Regions from separate parts of the Homo sapiens genome. Here region 1 is linked to region 2. Evidence: promoter capture Hi-C in human tissues and cell types (Jung and others, 2019). All regions are on one chromosome and are shown on one strand. Each heading gives the region's core, a stretch centred on a gene start or on the middle of the fragment in contact. The rest is flanking DNA. Distances are from core to core; before and after follow the strand shown. Region 1 holds the start of TBC1D16 (TBC1 domain family member 16). Region 2 holds the start of CBX2 (chromobox 2).

Evidence for each region. Contacts are between HindIII fragments. The study calls those that stand out against the background at their distance.
Region 1: the fragment with the promoter of TBC1D16 here is called in contact with the fragment with the promoter of CBX2 in region 2 in 1 of the 25 tissues and cell types used here (pancreas).

The regions. Positions count from the first base shown.
Region 1 is chr17:80,034,542-80,037,301 of GRCh38, forward strand. It overlaps TBC1D16 (TBC1 domain family member 16), which reads right to left and starts at 1,331. Exons shown (of 12, transcript NM_019020.4): 1 at 1,254-1,331. CCDC40 (coiled-coil domain 40 molecular ruler complex subunit) reads left to right here and starts at 2,101. Exons shown (of 20, transcript NM_017950.4): 1 at 2,101-2,150. The coding sequence starts at 2,122. RefSeq lists a silencer at 1,330-1,399 and enhancers at 1,590-1,709, 2,609-2,760. The HindIII fragment of the contact is 13,824 bases long and covers 1-2,760 here.
Region 2 is chr17:79,776,746-79,779,689 of GRCh38, forward strand. CBX2 (chromobox 2) reads left to right here and starts at 1,403. Exons shown (of 5, transcript NM_005189.3): 1 at 1,403-1,562; 2 at 1,639-1,682; 3 at 2,617-2,682. The coding sequence starts at 1,491. RefSeq lists silencers at 1,208-1,587, 1,598-1,667 and an enhancer at 2,063-2,656. The HindIII fragment of the contact is 15,418 bases long and covers 1-2,944 here.

The DNA of each region.
Region 1 (2,760 bases), core at 81-2,580, 260 kb after region 2:
TCACCATAAACATGCCACTTACAAAAAAATATGCGCACAATAACCACGCTCAGGATGCAAACAACATCCATTAATGAACTTTGTAGTTAATACCAAAAGTTACTCCTCACTTTATTCTTTATTTACAAAAGCTTTCATGGTTCTTAAAAGTGTTTAGTATTCACCAATTTTACTGTTAGCGTTTCTAATGAGGATTTTCTAAAACTGAGGCATGGATTTGAAAAAGTGTTCTGATCAATCAGTAACAGATTTGGAATGGAATCTCCAGCCCCCAGTCTTTGCGCCCACCCTCTGGCAATATGCCGCCTCACGTGAGCATCTTTAAGACGGAGTTCCCTTTTTATTCCAGATAAAAGAATTAGGAGCCTTCTGGTAGAAAAGAAAGCAGATCTTCAGGATCAAGTCGCAGAGGCTGGCCAATCAGCCCAGCTTCTCATTTGAACTTGACCCAGACAGTAAAACAAACTTTACCATAAGGCGAGACTAACTTTTGTTATGTCTTTTCTATTCATTTCCTATTTCTGAATCAAATCTGAACTACTTTGTGGCCAATATACGACACCAGCTTCCGAGTGTGGGAATCACAGGATTTCAGGATTCAGCGGCTTCCGGCAGGATCCCCTAGGTTATGTTTAGCAATCTTCAGTTGCCTTTCCTTTTTTTCTTTCCTTCCTTTCGTTCTTTCTTTCTTTTTCTTTTTTTTTTTTTCCCAAAGGAAAGAACAAGGGAGCCCAGGCGGAACGGAAGTGAGTATCCCGACACGCGGATCTTAAACAGCCCAGACCACCAAGCCCGACAGGCCGGGAAAGCTGAGCGCGCGCTGCTGGGGGGACGCACACTTTGGAGGCTGTGTGGGCGCGCGCCGGCACCCCACAAGTTCTCATCCGTCTGCTCCGCCGATTCAGCCAGACAAAGACCGCAAGTTCCCCGGTCCACCGCTCCAGACAGGCGGGGACCAGTCTCCCCGAATTAGGCCCATTCCGGGCCCGGGCGCCCTCACTCGCCGCGGGGAAAAGTCCCCAGGTGCCCCTCCGTGATCCAGGTCCTCCCACAACGCTCCCGCTCCTGCTGGCGCCCCGCACCCCGAGGACGGCGGCCGGACCCCGGCCCCTCCCCGGTCCCGCGGCTGCAGGCCCACGCGCCCCACGCGCCCCGCGCGCCCCCGCCCCAGCTCCGCCGAGGGGGCGCTGCTCGCTGCGCGGTGGACCCCTCGGACCCCGCCCCCGCGGCCCCGTCCGGGCCCCGATACCCACCCGGGTCCCGCTGCGGGGGCCGGATTCGCGCCGGCTCCGAGAGCCGCCACCGTCGCCTCCGCCGCTGCCGCCGCCAGTGAGGCGCGGCGGGGCGGGGACGCGCGGGGAGGCCCGGCCCCCGGCCCGCCCCCGGGCCCGCCCCCGGCCCGGCCCCTGCCTGCCCCCGCCGGTCTCCCCGCCCACCTTCTGGCCCAGCCCTGGGCCCAAGCCTCTAGTTCCCTGCTGGCCCTCCCTCAGGCCTCGCCGCGTCCCGGCCTCGGGGACTGTGCCCCGTCCCGAGCCTGGCGTCCCCAAAGGAAAGGCAGGGCTCCTCGGACGCTCCGCGTGCGCGCTGGCCCTCCGCTGCCGCCCTCTGCAGGGAGATTTCTCCTATTTCGGACTAGGAAGGGAAGATACGCTCCGGAAGACCCCCCGGGCGTCCATGCAAGGAGTCTCCGTAGGACCCCTGGAGAAGGGCACCGGAGCCCCCTAGGGCAGGAGATGGAAAAGCGCTCGCCATGCGCGGGGTCCCCGGCCCCCGGTGCCCCCAGCCCGCCTGCCATTCCCGGGCGCTTAGCAGTCCGGGGTCCCCAGGTGCCCGGCAGGTCCCTTCGGGACCTCGAGCCGCCCGCTGGGCACACGCTGACGCCGCTGTCGCTTTACAGAAATTGAGCGCAGCCGAGGCGGGACCCGGGCGCAGAGAGCGATAAAGGAAAAGCATGGTCGTGCTCTAATCATTACAGTCTAAGGGACGACACGTCGAGACGGCGCGCGCCTCTGCGTGCGTGGAGATGGCACAAAGGCCGCGCCGCCCCCGGCGGCCCCCGCCCTCGCAGCGCGCGTGGTCCCGGCCCGGCCGGATGTTGACAGCGTCGCCTAGCAACGGGAAATGGCGGAACCGGGCGGCGCGGCGGGCCGGTAAGCCGGGCCGAGGGGCAGCGGGTCTTGGAGTCGCCAGGCCGCGCTCTCCGTTCACCGCTCCAGGTGGCCCCCGCGTCGGCTCCTGCCTCGCCCCTTCGCCTCCACTCCCCCTTCCTCTCGCCTGTGTCCCTTCTCTCGCCATTTTGCTGGCCTTTCCCGTCCACTGCGTTCAGCCCCTCACCCCCCCGCCAACCCTTCTCACTTCTCCCCTCCTGTCCCTTTGTCCTCTCTCGGCCTCCCTCTTTCCCCTACTCCAAGCGCGCGACTCCCTCTAAAACCCGGGACCGCTCACTCTGCAGTCACCATGGCAACCACTCTGCGTGGCGGTCCCTGCGCGCAGTCCTCCTAAGAGTAGAGGGCTCTGCAGGGCGCGGGGCTGTTGGATACCGCCCCTGACCTTGCTCCGGGGCCACTCGCTGTGGCCGGAGACCAGCCCGGCCCCGCGCCTCCCTCCTGCAAGGACAGATCCCCTCTCGCAGGCTTGGGGGTGACCCGCGATGGGAGGGGTCCCTGCGGTTAGGCGGCCCGCGATAGTCCGCGGTCACCGTCCTGGGGCCTGGGTGGAAGCACTGAGCGCGCACAGGGAGGGCGGCTGAGTGAAGATCCC
Region 2 (2,944 bases), core at 153-2,652:
TCTCCAGGAAATCAAATGAATGTAACCTATCTAACCAAAGAAACTGAAGAACACGCCATAAATTGAAAGATCGGTTCCTACAGTTCAGTATTTTCTCCAGTAGGCCTTTCTGTAAAAACAAAAAAACACATTTCTCCTGCAGAACCCTTTATAAATATGGTTTTGATGATCACAATTACATTGAGACAGTCTCCTACAACAAGAAACGACTTTTGGATCTGCTCAACAGAAAGAGAATTTTGCAGCTGTGTTCAAGGAAGCAAGAAAAGCAGAGAGTGAATTTTCATGGAGTTAGACTGCGTTGAGACGAATGAAGCTAAGGCTCAGGTCTCTTTCATTACGTGTTTGACTTGTCCTGATTCAAAATCTAAATAACTTAAAGGGTGATTCTTCATGGAATTCGAATCTTAACACCGGAATAAAAGGGTAGCCTGCTGACGACGATCACAGGGAGGACAAGGGGTCACCCCCACTTTCATAACATGGCCTGACCCTTTTCTGCCGCGGACAATTGATCCGAAGGACGCCGGCTGCCCAGCCCTGGCGGGCCACTACTGACCTAGTCCGAAGTTAGGAACAGCCTTGCAAACCGCCCCCTCCCCCTCCATTTCATCAAAATCGGGGAACAAATTCAGAAAAGGTGCAGCTGGTTTTCTCCCTACACGTGCCCTAAAACTCGGGGGCTGGATCCACTTTTCATAGCTGTTTAATAAGAACTCCGGGCAGTTCGTATTACTTCTTTCTCAGAGTGCTTGGTGGTTTAAGTTAAAGCATTTTCCTCTCTCGCCTTTGGGGGAAAAAGCCTCGGCTGCTGGGGTTTGTGGGCCCCTCCCCCGGACTTCGTCTTCCTTTCCTTCCCCAGCCCCCGACCCGTTTTGCTCTCGTCCAAAACAGAGCGACTCCCCCGCTGCCGAGGAAAAGCCAGTTCAAGAAGCCGGGGGAAGGGTGGGGCCCCGCGTGCCCCGGAGCAGCGCCCCTCGAAGGCGGGGGCAGGAAGCAGCCGCCGCGCCCCGTCCCGCTTCCCTCCCTTCGGGCCAGAACAATGGCTTTTTGCCCGGAAAACGGAGTTGGGAGCAAGGGCGGGCGCGCCCCGGGAATCACGCGGGACTCGGTGGGCGCCCCAGGCCCGAAGTCCCTAGGCACCTCCTCCCCCAGCCAGGGGCCCGCCCGCGCCCCCACCCCCGCCCCCGCCCCCGCCCGGGGCCCCGCGCGGGACCCCCCGCCGGAGCGCGAGGCCCAGCCCGCCGCGGACAATGCGCGCCCCGCCCCGCCCCGCACCCGCCCCCCCTCGCTGATTGGCCCGCACGGGATTTGGGCAGCGCGCGGGGGCGGGCGGCGGGCCGGGGCGCGGGCGCGGAGCGGCGGTGCGCGTGCGCGGGGCGGGCCGGCGCCGGGCGGGGGCGGTGCTTTGTGTGCTGCCGGCGGGGCGCGCGGCGGTCCGGGCGGGTGACTGGCGGCGGGCGCCGCGGTCGGGCTGGCTGCCGGGCAGCATGGAGGAGCTGAGCAGCGTGGGCGAGCAGGTCTTCGCCGCCGAGTGCATCCTGAGCAAGCGGCTCCGCAAGGTGCGTGCGGCCCGCCGGGCCCCCCGCCCGCCGCCCGCTGTCCGTCTGGCTCACGGCCCCTCTTCTCTCCCCGCAGGGCAAGCTGGAGTACCTGGTCAAGTGGCGCGGCTGGTCCTCCAAGTGAGTCCCCCGCGACGCCGCGCCCCCCTCCCGCCCCCTCGCCCGGGGGTGGGGACGTGGAGCCCCTCGGCCGCGCCGTCCGGTGGCCTGGGGGCGCCCGCGGGCAGAGCGGGAAGTTCGCGGGGTCCCCGCGGGCTCCTCCGGCTCTGAGGGGGGCGGGGGCCGCCCGGCCCGAGGTTGCCCTTTGTTTACACGCCCGCGGGTGCAGAGCTGGGCGGCCCCCCGCGCCAGAACCTCCTCGGCTGCCGCGCCGCGCTCCCCCCAACCCCCGTCCCGGCCGGGAGGGAGGCGCGGGATGCAAGCCCCCCTCCTCTTGGCCAGATTCTCCCCGCTGTAACCTGAGCTTGCTATTGATGGATGTAGAGTTTCTTTTTTTTTTTCTTTCTTTTAATGGAAGGGAGGGTGTTTGGCATCCCCGGAAGGGGCTCTCTGCACAGCTGCTCCCGCGGCCCCGTTTCTGCGTCTTCCCGGACCCCGCTCTTTCTTCGCTACCCCTCGAGGTGCCCCGGCCCGCGCGCCACATTGTTCTGGATCTCGGGCTGGGCGCCTGTGCCCCTCCCTGCATGCTGGACCTGCCTTCCCTTCCTCCTCTGGCTCCGGGCCAGGGTTTGGGGGAATCCCTCTCTGCAACTTTGCGTTTTATGGGGGTTTGTTTTTCTCCCAGGCAGAGACTGTGGGAGTCCTCTTGTGGCCTTGTTTTAATTGGGGGGTTGGAGCGGCAGTTTCCCTTTGGGTCTGAGGTTAGAGTGCTGGCTTGGTGGGGGGTGGCCAGCCTCCAAAACCTGGGTTTGGACTTTGAGAAGTGCCATGGTGCTACGGTGCCACTGCCATCGGCCCAAGTCGAGGAGCGGTGAGGGCGAGCCCCCTCGGGCTGCCTTGCAAAGCGGTGATCATCAGCCTGGCGTCTAATGCTGCCCTGTCCTCTGCTTTGCAGACATAACAGCTGGGAGCCGGAGGAGAACATCCTGGACCCGAGGCTGCTCCTGGCCTTCCAGAAGAAGTGAGGACGCTGACAGCACTGGGGAGGGTGTGGGGGAGGGACGGTGGCTGGTTGGAGTCGTGCTGGGCGCTGCTCGCCTGCCGGGAGGCTGGAGCTGGGGCTGTGGTCTGAGGTCCCTTAGCAAGATTGTGTCCAGGGCCATCTCTGTGGCTGGCTGTAAAAGTCCCCAGCCAGCCCCTCTCCCACCTTCTCCTAGCCAGCCTGTATCCATCCCTGAGAAGAACCTAAGTAAGTGCTGCTTTGGTGTTTCCGACAGCCATAC